Regions from separate parts of the Homo sapiens genome. Here region 1 is linked to region 2. The links are contacts of gene promoters, found by promoter capture Hi-C in blood cells and fetal thymus (Javierre and others, 2016). All regions are on one chromosome and are shown on one strand. The core of a region is centred on a gene start or on the middle of the fragment in contact, and the rest is flanking DNA. Distances in the headings are between cores, read along the strand shown. Region 1 holds the start of LOC101926968 (a long non-coding RNA gene). Region 2 holds the start of LINC03051 (long intergenic non-protein coding RNA 3051).

The links. The method cuts DNA at HindIII sites, captures the fragments that hold promoters and counts their contacts. A CHiCAGO score of 5 or more calls a contact.
Region 1: a fragment that was not itself captured here is called in contact with the fragment with the promoter of LINC03051 in region 2 in 1 of 17 cell types (erythroblasts); the score reaches 6.3 in erythroblasts.

Annotation. Positions count from the first base shown.
Region 1 is chr3:118,641,219-118,648,042 of GRCh38, forward strand. All of the region lies in intron 2 of LOC105374060 (a long non-coding RNA gene), which reads right to left. It overlaps LOC101926968 (a long non-coding RNA gene), which reads left to right and starts at 550. Exons shown (of 2, transcript NR_135573.1): 1 at 550-706; 2 at 2,644-2,939. The HindIII fragment of the contact is 185 bases long and covers 1,211-1,395 here.
Region 2 is chr3:117,996,167-118,003,569 of GRCh38, forward strand. It overlaps LINC03051 (long intergenic non-protein coding RNA 3051), which reads right to left and starts at 1,413. Exons shown (of 3, transcript NR_182298.1): 1 at 1,016-1,413. RefSeq lists an enhancer at 1,084-1,630. The HindIII fragment of the contact is 6,554 bases long and covers 1-5,366 here.

The sequences.
Region 1 (6,824 bases), core at 53-2,552, 640 kb after region 2:
GTCTTTGTTACTGACTGAAAAGCTCAGAAGTGACAGCCTTGGAGCTGATGATAATGACTTAGAATCATTTCACATACTAAAACCCCAGAATTTAAATTTCCATACAAGTGAACGTTTAACTTCTGTCCCACAGGGCTGTGCTTAGAGCAGGGGATCATTTTAAAATTCCATAGAATAGGCCCTGCCACGCAGAGCACCAGAGGACTTGGAGGTGGATGGGCTCTAATGAACCGCGATGTGACTTGGGTAATGTAGAGCTCTGAGGAAAGCCCTCATACAAATTTTGGGTGATTAACTAAATTTTTAAAAAGGATGGAACCTTCTGCTTCAGTGAATGTGGGAAAATTAAGACAACAAAGACATGGGGGTTCAGGCGAAGGGATATCCTAAGATGCTGGGAACTTTGAGTATTTTGAACCCAGTCCCCCTCCTCCCCGAGCCCTTCAACCAAATGTTCTGTTGCTAAGACAACAGGATGCTAGCAGGCATATGCATGTGTCTGCTTCCTGCATGCGGTTGCCTAGCAACAGGACTCAGCAGAGCCTGGGCTCTCGCTCTTTACACCTACCCTGCTCCATCCATTGCCTTGACTTGCCAGTTGCTTTCCCCACCCCCAAGGCAAAGAAACAAGAAGCAGGAGAGTGCAAGAGGCTCAGGATCTGATCTTCTCAACAGCAGGAGAAAACCCTAGCCTGGCTTCACTCAGGTTAACCCCTACACTATGAAGTTATAAAATGTAAACTGACCATTACAGCTGACTGGAAATGAAATGATGATTCGACATTCTTAATATTTGAAATCCGGTTATGGAGTCCTACCCTGTAATCACCAAAGGGATATGATGATAAGGAAAATACTGAACTACTGAGGCAAGATTAATAGAAATATTTTACCCTAGGAATGAGATCACAGGAAATGGGATATTTGGGGGATAAAAGGAAGAAAGGGAAGGGGAGAAAAGAAATTAAGGAGAAAGTAATAAAGAATAGAAAAAAGCAGGAAAGAAAGGAAAGGCTTTTAACTCACAATAAATAATATCCCTTTGGAACCTGAGAGTGTGCAAACTGGAAAAATCTGCAATGTTATGTAGACTAGGATCTGATGTCTAAAATGATAACAATAGAGATTATTGAAGTTCTTTTAAATATAGGACATTACATTAAGGGCTTTACATAGATATTTCCATCTTCACAATAACCCCGTGTGATAAAGCTTAGGAAAGTGATTTTACAGCTTAGACTCAGAACAGTTAAGTGACTTGACCAAGGACACACAGCTAGTAATTGTGGCAAAGCTAACAAAAATAGGTAGCATTCAAACCAAAATTAGTTTGACTCAAAACCCACTCATTTTCTTAACATGTATTATGAGAAGTACCTGAGAAAATATGTGTAAAGCTTGTGAAGTCACACAAATTTGTTAAATTGGGGACCTTTTAAAGAAGCTATAAATATACCTTATATAACATTAAACAAATGTTTTTTCTTCAAAGCTTTAATGCAATAATTTATAAAAGAAAATCATCTTGCCAAGTGGGAAAGTAAAAGCTGGTCCTTTAACAAAGTGTTCAGTAAAAAAGTTTAGAGTCCTTTTGAAGAAGCTGTAGAAAGAAACTCCCGAGTTACTCCCATTGAAAAGAAAGTTCAAATTTTGGAGATGTTTATGAAATTATAGGAAATTGATTATAGCACCAGATGTATACAGAAAAGCAATTGCTCCAGGAAATCAAATAAAAGAAAAATATAAGGTTCCTCTGAAACCTTGGTGGCTTCTAATACGGAACTCCTTCCTGGCAGCAGCACAAAGCCCCTGGCCAGCGAACATGTGGCGAAGTGCTGACAGCAGGGATGGATACATACATATTCAGTGCCCCTTTCTCAGACCCTCAGACCTCCATGCCTACAGAAGACATATGGCATGCCAGTCTCATCATTCAAAAAGATGTGCCTAAGCTTGCCTGACCTAGGCTTAAACCAGTAATTTTACCAGCTACATTTATTCCTTATTCTAAAGGGTGAGTTCAGGCATACTTAGAAAATCCTTTTGTCATATTCATTAATTCCAAAGGTAATAGGCCCCCTCTAAATATTAATAGAGATCAGGCAGACCCTACCTGACTATTAGAGTCAAGATTCTGGTGTCCAGAGTGCACAAACTCAGGTTAACAGGTTAATGGCTTCATCCCTTCCCAAATTTAAAGTATTGTTATCATTATATCATATTACATATGACAGCTATTCTCCAGAAATAACTTGTCTTTGCTTAAGGATCAGGGCCAAATACTCTCCTGTGAAGAGCATAAACCAGAGTAGAAACATAAAGCGGGCATTCCAGCTTTTCTACACAAAGCTATATGAAGTAACTATGTTGCAGAGCTCTAAATAACATAATTCATACAGTAATGCCCACAATGTGTAAAAATGCAATGGACAAAGACTATTGTCCCACAATATCTATTCCATCTTTCTTGTATAGTCACAGAATTTTTAGCTAGGCACATGACCACTCACTCTAAAGTCTGGCCAATAAGATTTATACGCAATTGTCATGTGGCAGTTTTTCTAACTCTTTAAGAAACAGCCATTGTACAAATGTTGCCCCTCTTCTTTTGTTCCTTTCTTTTCCCCACCTACTGCAATGTAGAAGATGTCATCTTGGATTAGAAAAGAGAGAGAGAGCCACAACTTGGATTGACAGAGTATGGAGCCTGAAGGAGCCCAGGTCCCTGAGACACGGTGGAACAAAGCCACTATACTACCTCAGGACTCTGTACAGCCCTGCTTTATATAGAGGAGAAGTAAACTTCTATCTTTTTAAAGCCCCTATTTGTTGAATTGTATTGTCACAGCCATATCCAATCTTAAGGAATATACAAAGATTATGCCATGGCTTTTGTAGCCCAATTGGCTATCTAGGCAAGTAAAATAATCTGAATGATGTATTAGTCTGTTCTTGTACTGCTATGAAGAAATACGTGAGATGGGTAATTTATAAAGAAAAGAGGTTTAATTAGCTCGCAGTTCTGTGGGCTGTAGAGGAAGCATGGAGCATCTCTTGGGCTTCTAGGGAAGTCTCAGGAAACTCACACTCATGGCAGAAGGCGAAGGGAGAGCTGGCACTTCACATGGCCAGGAGCAGGAGGAAGAGAGGGGTTGGGAGGTGCTACACACTTTTAAACAAGAAGATCTCATGAGAACTCTATTATGAGAACAGCAATGGGGGATGGTGCTAAACCATTAGAAATCGCCCTCATGATTCAATCACCTCCCACCAGGCCCCACCTTCAGCATTGGGAATTATATTTCAACATGAGATTTGGGTGGGGACACAGATCCAAACCAAATCAAATGATCTACAGCAGAAAAGAAATCCTGAATAGAAATGAGGATCTGAATTGTCTCAAGACAAGACTCTCCAATTTATAACTGGCAATCTAAAGAACTCCTGTCATTTTCCTTAAGGATATAATTTTTTTCATAGTATACAGAATAAGATGTTGTCCTCAAAAAGAAAGAAGATATTTTATCCACAGGCAAAAACTTGTCTTTTAACATTTACTTGCTTCTCCCTAGATGAGAGAGCCCCATCAGATGCTCCTGAGCATACGCCCAAAATGCACACCCAAAAGGTGTTGTTTCCAAGAAGTGACACCCAAGAGGTGTTGCCACCACAGCCCTTGTACTGATAAGGCAAACCTAAGAGCCACTGGTGAAACTCATCTAATAAAATGAATGAATATAATATGTGACTTAATATCTTTTCAATATTTAAAAGAAATGTGTATACTGAAAATTCATATGATCCACACCACTACTGTCTGATAGAAATATAACACCAGTCACAAATGCAAGCCATAGATGCCTTTCTAACTTTTCTAGTGACCACACTTTTAAGAATCAAAAAGAAACAACTAAATATAATTTTAATAATATACTTTAACCCAATATATCAAAGATATTATACGTTACATACTAATATGATCCATATAAAATACCAATGTGCTTGAAATTTTCTTTTTTTTTTTTTGTACAAAGCCTTCAAAACCCAGTATATATTTTACACTTACAGTACATTTCAATTTAAGCTAGCCACACTTCAGATAGATGTTCAGCAACCACTGTGGCTCGTGGCTACCATACTGAACAGTACAGATCTGGAGTATGCCATTTATTGTTTAGCAGAATAATAACATCTTTGAATGTCTTGAGCCTCTAAAGTTTCTCAAGCCCAACCAAGGCTCCTGCCTTCTTGTCACAATTGTAACTTATGATAAAAAATGAAGGTGACTGTTTGTAAATAGCTACCAAAATGGTTATGCCATTATTACAACTCACAATCATTCAGATCTCACTGATGATGAGGTTCTTCTCTTGTGCTAACTTTATGTCTGTTGCTGCATTTAGCCCTATTCTGGTTCTGTCTTCCACAGAGAAGAGGCACAGTGACCCATAATCCCCACATAATTACTTTGCATGTTAGGAAGCACAGAACTCCAGGGACATGCTCAGTTTACTAAGGTGCAAAGGCGGTAGGGATTTGAAAGAGCCAAATCTAAATCTCAAGGCACTCAGACTCAGTTTCCCTCTGCCATGAGGAGACTCATGACTCCTTCCATTTTCCAGCATAGTTCGAAGGTCACAGACACTGTGAAAGCTTTCCTTTAACCACAATCCTATAATGAATACAATTTCTGACTCTGGGGTCTACTTCTACTTTAGATCTTTAAAAAGAAGAATTCGAAGAAAAAGGAATGCAAGGAGAAAGCTGAAGAGGAGGTGGAAGGAAAAGAAGAAGCAGCAGAAGAGGGAGAAGAGAAAGAAATGTCTGTCTATAGAAGGGAGAGTCACATGATTTGAAGGCTGACATTTGGAATGCAAACCTGAGGAAAATTGTCTACCTCACTTACCTGCCTGGTTGGAAATCCAAGTATCAGTGATACACTTGTTTTGAGATAAACTAAGAGTCCATGCATACCTAGTTAAGATGCAAATAAACCTAGGAAGTGAAATACCAAACCTTCAATTCTTACTACATTTTCATTCATCAAACACAAGCAAATTGGTCAACTCAGCAGGGCCTAGAAAGACAGACACAAATGTTGACAGGCAGGATGGGAAAGATCTGGGAAACAGAAGCCTCGGGCCACCTATGCATTATTGTGATGACCTTGGAGACCTGGAGGAACGGTCACCTGAAGCACAGAGGATGCTGACAAGAGGACAGAGACTGACAAACCTCAACTCTTCCCACTGTCCAGAGCCAGCTCTGCCTAGCATCTCCACTGTTTACTATGACGTTGTGAGTTTGGGTTATCTGTACTTAACTTCTTCAAGATATAAAGAATGTGACATATCCCCAGCACTTCAATTCTTACTTTTTATTAGGATCAGCTGGTCCTCTTTGGGCCCAGTAAGCTTCTAGCCTTCCAGTTTATTTGACTCAATCATAACGAAATGAACCACTAGTTCTTTGGACTTTTAAAATTCAACTGGACAGTCCGTTGAAAGCCTGTGCTTCACAACAAAGCCCAGAAATTTCTGAGTACCAGAAAATGTGAAACAGTTAAAAATTTTTAAAAATAAATGAATGTTGGCTGGGCACGGTGGCTCACACCTGTAATCCCAGCACTTTCGGAGGCTGAGGTGGGCAGATCACAAGGTCAGGAGATTGAGACCATCCTGGCTAACACGGTGAAACCCCGTCTCTACTAAAAATACAAAAAATTAGCTGGGCATAGTGACGGGTGCCTGTAGTCCCAGCTACTCGGGAGGCTGAGGCAGGAGATTGGTGTGAACCCAGGAGGCAGAGCTGGCAGTGAGCCGAGATCGCGCCGCTGCACTCTAGCCTGGGCGACAGAGCGAGACTCCATCTCGAATAAATAAATAAATAAATGTTTATCACTTTCATTATCAACTTGAATTCTGGTTCTTCCCTCTTTTTCCCTTTTCTATTTTCCTTATCCTCATTCTTTGTTTTCTGACAGGGATGCATAATTGTCTATAGGTTCATGGCTGAAAGGCATTGTTTCTCTAAGAAGGTGGGGTTAGCAGAGACACGCATGAACCTGTGATAAAGGAAGGGCAGAAACCCCTGTCCAGCTACATTTCCAGAACCAAGCTCATAAGCTCATAAGAGGCTATTTATTCAGTCATTCAATGGCAATAATTGAGTTGCTATTACATGCCCAATCCTGTGGTCAAAGAATAGTAGTAATAGACATAAGAATACAAATCTGTGTTGAGTGCCAACATGGAGATGCCCCAAGGTAGAGAAGGGGAACAGAGGAAGATGTTGGTTCTGGAAATGTAGCTGGCCAGGGGTTTGTGTCCTTTCACAGATCCAGGGGCCTCTCTCCCAACACTGTTTTCTTGAAGAAACAATGCTTATTGGCCGTGAACCTATACATAGTTGTGCTTCCTGTCAGAAAGCAAAAAAATGAGGATAAGGAAGGTAGAAGAGGAAGAAAGGGGGAAGAACCAGAATCCAAGCTTATTTTACATCCCCTTTTCTAGTTATTCTCAAACAGTGAACACCCTAGAGGTAAAACAAGGCAACTTTAGCTTTTTGGTGCCATATCTTTTTCACTCAAGTGTCCTTGGAAACTGAGGCTATAGTAGTGGCCTTTGGACCAACAGAAAGATACTGTAATGGTCTCAAATGTACTTATTAAAGGAATAGGTCCTCGGTGTGCTATGTCTGATTCTATTCTATTCTATTCTTCTGTTCTATTCTATTCTATTCTATTCTATTCTATTCTATTCTATTCTATTCTATTCTATTCTGTGATTTTCACCTTCATTTCCAACACATAGTCTTGACAAAAG
Region 2 (7,403 bases), core at 163-2,662:
GAAGATTAAAAAGATAATATATTTTTATGTTGGAATTACTTCGTGTATTATAGGTATGTTTAACATCAGTGAGGGCTCTGGATGCCAGCTTGTAAGTGAAATGCAAACACCATGTATGTATTTTCATTTTTAACCTTCATGAATTTATTTTACAACCTCCCCAAAACATAGAAACCTACAATCCCTTCAAAGTAAACACCCAGCGCTAGCAATTTTGTCCTGCAAGCATGAAATACATTGACCATTATGAGCCAGCGCAGCGATTACCCGTGAATTCTCGTATTCATTCTCTCTCTCTCTCTCTCTCTCTCCCCCACCCCACTCTCTTCCTCCCTCCCTCTTCTCCTCCTCCCCCCCTCCCCGTGTCCCCCTCCCCCCACCCCACTCACCGTTCCCTTCCCTCCCGCATCCCTCCTCCATCTCGGGGCAGAAGAATCTGGTGGGGCTATTTTGCAGAGAGATACAAGTACCAGGTGCCAAGCGGATACCTAGCCTCCTAAACTTAATGCCAATTCCCTCCTGAAAGAGGAGGAATGCAGTGATATCAGCACCGGGGACACGGGGATAGCGAACACCACCGCGGCTCTTGGAGTTTACAGAGGAGCAACCCCAGCTCCGTCGCCACCACCTCGCGCAAAAGCCCCCACCCCACCAAGACACACACACACACACACACACACACACACACACACACACAAAACACGCCGCTCTATCCTGCCCCCCGTTCACACGCGCGCGCGCACACACACACACACACACACACACACACACACACACACACAAGCCCTGGCTTCTTTCCCCATCAACACCGATGTTGCAGCAAGTCTGTCCGCACAATCCCGCACGCCTCAGGACCCAGCCTGGGCGCAGAGCTGGCAGGGCAGGGAGCGCACCGCAGGACTTGTAAATAAACCCTGTTCCATCCAGAACCGGAGCGCTTCTTACTCCACCGACCACCCCGGAGCCCGGCGGCAGGGAGGAGGGGGCGCAAGGGGTCAGGGAATCCTCCCCCTACCTTGCAATGAGAAGAGGGACAGGAAAAAGCCCAGCACCCAGACGCTGTGCAGCCAGTAGGTCCTCATGTCTCCGCTGCGCTCGATGCTCCCTCGCGCGCTCCTGCTCTCGCCTCTTCCGCTCGCGCTCTCTCTAGTAAAACGCGCCGCTCCTTTCCCTCGGTTTCCCTCTGGGTTCTCCTGGTTCCGGCAACCCGGACAGACAAGCCTCTTGCCGCACGACGGCCGGATCCCAGAACAGCCTTGCTCTCCTCTTCGGGAGCGCAAGCCAGGGGCCGGGATGGACGCTCGTAGCCCGTGCCTGGTGTAAACACACCGAGCCCCCTTGTCCCTCGAGCTCTCCCGCTTTCCTGCTTCCTATCCTCCTCTCCCTCACTCCCCTGCAGCTTCAACTAAATGCGATGTACTTAAACAAGCAGCGCCTTATAGGACCGCGAACCGAGCCGAAAGGGCCCCGCTACTGCCATCTAGTGCTCACAGAACGGCATCGCCGCGGCTCTTCTTCGCTGTGTGTCTGTGCCAAGTCTATCCAACGCCGCCAAAGTCCCCTCTGCTCTCAGCAAACACAGGTGAAGCTCTTGCCTTCTTAAATCCTTGACTTGACCTTGCTGTCCCATAAGTCCTGAATTTCTCCTTTTCACGAGGAAGCTCTTGGAACATGCTAGCCGCACATCTTCATCACCTCATTGCTCCTCTCCCTCTCAGAAATCTCCAGTGCTTTCCTAACAACTCTATGGAAATTTTTCTCCAAATGTCACCATGACCTCCACCAAAAAGTCCAATGGCCTTTTGAAGCCTCATCCTACTTGATTTTGATGCTGCGCTTCACAGCGTGTGCCATTCCTTTTTATTTGATTTCAAAGTCACTGGGTCAAAACAATTCTGGCACTTCTGACCTTCCCTCCAAGAGCCCTCTGGGTTCCTCTGCACTTCTTGGTTTATATCTTCTGTTATAATTTCTTTAAGTTACTTGGAAATAAAAGGTCTATTACAGCTACACGAGGATGGAAACCTCCACCACTAACCTCGTGCTTAGCCCTCAGCTTAGACTTCCCAGCTGGGTACCAAGCATCTCAAACTGGATGACTCAGGGCCAGGGCTGAGTTGGGTGAGTAGGCAGATGGGGCCGCTCTGAAGAGCACTGACTAGTAGTTAGGAAAGCTGGATTTCAGTTCTGTTACTGTGGCCTCCACTCGTTGGGGACCTTAACTAAGTCATTCAATCTCTGAATTTCATTTTATTCATCCATGTATTTACATGATAATGAATATTGGTCCCTTCCAACTGTTTGTAATATCTATGCTAGGTTTCTCCACCTTGGCACTACTGACATACTGTACCAGATAATTCTTTACTGTGTGGGGCTGTCTTGTGCACTATAGGATTTATAGCAACATCCCTAGCTTCTGTCCACCAGCTGACAGTAGCACAACCCTCATCCTCCTAGTTATGACAACCAAAAACATCTCCAGGCATTGCCAAATGCCCCCTGGAGGGAAAAACTGACCCAGTTGAGAACTTCTTATCTATACCCACGTGATTTTCTTCAGGAATTATTCCCCTTTTCCAACTTCCCTGTTTCACAGGCTTCAAGAACTTTTAGAAGTATATTTAATTCTCTCTTCTCCAATTTCAGTTGATCATCAGTCTCACCACGACAATGTGTAAATGTGTCTAAGATGTCTCTATGTTTTTTTTTCAGTTTTACTGCCACCTTTTTCATAATAAACACGTGTTGTGCATTATACTTTCTGAAATACTTTTAATTATCTCTAATGCTGTGATATGTTCAAGGGCTATGTTAGCTCTTCGAGCATTAGTGGGAAATGCAGACAAAGACAAGTTAAGTGACTTTTCTTATGACATACGATAGGCCAGTGAAAGCAACATTAGCAGACCTGAAGGAGGTCTCCTGACTCTAGCAGCATTCCTGATCCATCTCTCTAGTATGGGTCTTTATTGCCACACCCCTAGATTTCTACAATAGCCTTCTACCTGATCCCTTTCCTCCATTCACTGCTCTAATCTAGTTTATACGTTACCACCAGGTTAATCTTGTTAACAGTTTCTTCAAGACTCTCACCTGCTTATGAGTTATAGCTGCTCCTTATGGTCTTCTAGAACCATACTAGAATCACCTGAGGACTTTTGCTGACGCATCATCCCACCCCAAACCAATTAGATCACAATTTTTGGGTTGCAGCCCTAGCATCCGGAGTATTTTAAAGATCTCAGGCCATCCTAATCTGCAACCAGGGCTGAAAAACACTAACCTACCAGACAGAATTCAGATTCTTCATTTTTAAAATGTAAGGTCTTCTGAAATTTCTTATCTTACCTTTAACAATTTATTTTTTTTTCAATCCCCAATGGAGACACTTTCTTCTAGATTGCTCAGTCTTCTTTTTTCCCCATGCACTTCCTTTATCTGCTGCTTGTTTGTCTTGCCAAGTCTGTTCCATTCTCAGGAGGCAATTTGCAAGTGGCCAGAGCATAGACTTTGAATCTAGAACTAGATGGATTCAAGTCCTACCATGCCTTTAACAAATGGAGAGACCTTGCAAAAGTCTCAAAGGACTTTTGTGAGTATAACTCATGAAGTACTTAATAAATAATGTCTAGTGGTATTGTTTTTCAAGGATCAACCTTGATTTCTTCAATGTTAATGCATGTCTTAGTAAGGTTTCTCAAAATACAATCAATTTAAGAACCCAGATGCAATAGAATCACAGTGTACATGTTAAAATTCCAGATTACTTAGTCATACACACAACCTAGTCTATTAATATATTTGGATGTTGGAGTCCAGGAATCTGCATTTTACTAGTATATCTAGGTGATTCTTTTGCCCTCTAATGATTGAAAAATCATTCTATAAGAACCACAAAGTGTTAAGAGTTGTGAGAAATTGTTTGCTCATGTAGTCCAGTTTCTCAGCCTCAGCACCCTTGACATTTTGGCCCAGATAATTCTTTGTTGTATGGGGCTGTCCTTTTTATTGCAAGATGTTGAGCAGTGTCCTTGACCTCTACCCACTACATGCCACTAGCAGACCCCTCTCCTCAAAGTATGACAAACAAAAATATCTCCAGAAATCCTATATGTTGCCTGGGAAACTAATTTCCCCCCACCCCAGCCACGCCCATGGAGTACAACTTGTCTAGTCCAAACCTCATTATAAGATAAGAAAACTGAGTTTCAAGGAAATCGCATGACTTGCTAAATCTTGTAGTTTATATTTGGATTTGCCAGAGCCACAAAATGTGTTGCATCAGACTTTGTGATCTCCCTACATTATACTTAGAATGACTTCCAACAATTCTTTAAAATTCTTTCAAAATTGTTCTTGATGCCTAAATTAGATATTTTCCTGCAATATATACTTACTGGCTATAATATCTTTCTGTTTGTTTCTGTATTACTTTAAATAATCAATCCTAATTAATTTCTATGTCTTTGTCATGATTTTCCAAATTGATTTGTAAACACCGCTGCCAATTATCATGTATTAATCACAGAGCCTAGCAGAGTGCTAGATGGGCAGACATTTCTCGAGTATAGCTAGCAGTAGAATAATTACTTGTTTGCGTGTGGTCAGAGGGAGCTTATGCATTCATATATCAATTGTCCAGATATCAAAGTTTTCTTAGATGTAATATATGCTTAGAGACCGTTTGCATAAATATTCATTTTTTTTCAGCGAATGAATGTATCCCATGTTATTTCTGCCCACGCCCTTCACTTTAGTTCAGGTACACTGTTTACAACATAGGAAAGTGGTTCTCAAATTGGTTGGGTAAAGAACTTGTAGAAATTGCATAAATAGCAGACATTCAGGCCCTATCCCCAGAGGCTTTAATTTGCATGTGCATGGGGCTACAGGTCAGTCTGATACCTTGCCAGAGTTCAGGAAATCTAAACTTGAAGATTTGTGTGTGTGTGCGCGTGTGTGTTTAGTATGTTTTGTTGGAAATTTCTGAATGCAAAACTTTGCCCACATTCTTTGACGTTCAATTTATTATATATTCGTGTGGATGACATCCTTCTTAATATCATGGTGGAAGACATACCTGTATATACGGACAGGACATATTTGTATACACAGGTAGAAATTATGTAACTCTCCATCATCACTATTGTTCTAAAAAGCTAATTTGGTCACAAATTCACATAGTTACATACTTACATAGCGTAAGTAAAATAAATAATAGAAACCCTTTCTAGCTTTTTACCTGAGGGCATTTTTTTCCCCTCCCTACAGCTGCCTTCCACTCCAACAAAATCTCAAAGTTTATAAAGCCTGTCAACTTCCATTGCTAATTCTCAGTAATGGGATTGTAATTCGCTTTGGGAAGCTTCCCTGTATTACTGTTAAGTCATTTGCATTCCATAGGATGATTTGTGTTCTGATGAGTCCAGGAATTCCTAGAAGTCTCTTTCCTACCCCGCCCCCTCTTTCATTTGGAGTCTCCTTTTCTGAGTAGCAGCAGAAGCCAAAAGAAAGAAAGAAAAAAACCTTGCATTGCAAGTACAATTAGATCTATGTCTGTAGAAGTGCCTTTTGTCCAGAGACCCCTTAGGATACTATACTGAGACACTGAGCTGAAAAAGGAAAGATGATTTTTTTAACAGATGGGTTGCCTATTTTTGCCCTTCCTACATTAGAGCTGTTTTTTCCCCTTCTCTAAACTAGAGAACTATCATCCTGTAGTGGTATACAACTGTCATTCATTCCTGCCTATATTATACTGTGACTACTTGACTTTAGGCAAGAGAAGGTGATATGCACAATATCTCCCATAATAGACTTTGCAATCTGGCCTGTGGGTTTCTTTTGACTGTCCCAATGCCTGCCAGAGCAGTTTTCACAGATCTAGGAAATGGCTACATAATTTATGTGGAATCAGAAAATGAAAAACAAGAATGCAGATTTTTGCGGGTTTCTGAAATAAAACAAGTCCAACTCCAGATTGAAAGGCCTAGAGTAATTGTGCTCATCTAATAATAATAATATTTTGTGGTTATACAGCTACTTCACATGCATGGTCTCATTAATATAGCAATGGAGACAATTTCAGAAGGTAGAAATTTATCTTCTTGCCTTTGAATTATTTTATCCTGGAAGTTTAGAGCTAAAAAAGGAAACGCTGTAATTTGATGTGTCAAGAAACCAAACAGTAGAGCTTCAAGTGAAAGAACTTCGGTGCTTGAAAGGACTTTAGATGAGGCACTGTGGTGTAGAAGAAAAATCTAGCTGTAACATCAGACAGATGTGGGCTTTTCCACTCACCAAGGTGTGGCCCTGGGTAAATAACTTTTCTGAGCTCTAGTGCTTTCCCTAGGGTCAAGAGAATCTACTGACATAAGATATATAAATTTCCTAACATACATTAAGCACTCAATGAAGGTTTGTCCGTGATTATCTCAAATACCACCACCCATCCTCTGCCTTTCCCTAATCTCATTCCCCTACCCCAGTTTTGCAAGAAGGACTAAAGCCTCTGAAACTCAAACAATGTATCCAAATTCATACAGCTCAAAAAAAAATATAGAACTCAGCCTTTCTGATTCCTAACATAGTGCCGTAACTTAGTATACAACTAAAGGCAACATTTCCCACCAACTCTGTTCCATACAATAACACTTTCTCTCCCTTAGATGTTATAATTTTTTAACTATTTACCTAAACCTAAAGAAAAATTTTAGGATTTAAAACGCGTAAGGATTGGTTAATTTTAATATAGCCTGGGGTCATCTGAGTCACATTAAACCGTGGCCAAAGAAGGACTTCTACTGAGGTGGAATGTTTACAGGTGTCAGAAATCAGGAGCTATAATATTCCCTGTTGAAGCAAAACAAATTTTTAGCCTTAAAATATTCCCATTTGCAACTGAAAAGAAAATAAACTATTCTGTCTAAAGAAATTGCTTTTGCCATCAGGATGCAAAGGGCCAAGTAAATTTGTTACCCAATAAATCTTTTGGGGCATTATATAGACATAGTCTTATATTTTGTAAAGCCTAAGCTATAAAAGCAAATAACAAAAAAGAAGAAGCTATAAATTCCAAATCTAGATGACACCTTTGTATGTAAGACTCAGGAGAGCAAAACACACTATTAAGAACAAGGAATTATAAGACCAAAATAGAGTTAGAAATGCTTCTGGTTTCTCCCCTCTTGTTCTTTCTGTTTATCATGTACTTTTAGCAGTAAGTAGAGTACTACAGCAGGACCTGACATCCTGCATTGAGCAATATGGATTGGAAGCTCCATTTCTTCTCCCTCATCCTGTGTTGATTCCAGCCCAAGATGTTTAAGAACAAACCAAACTTACAAGACAAGTTTTTGGCTGTTGACCATGTCCCAAAGACTACAAAGGGGGATTTGAAC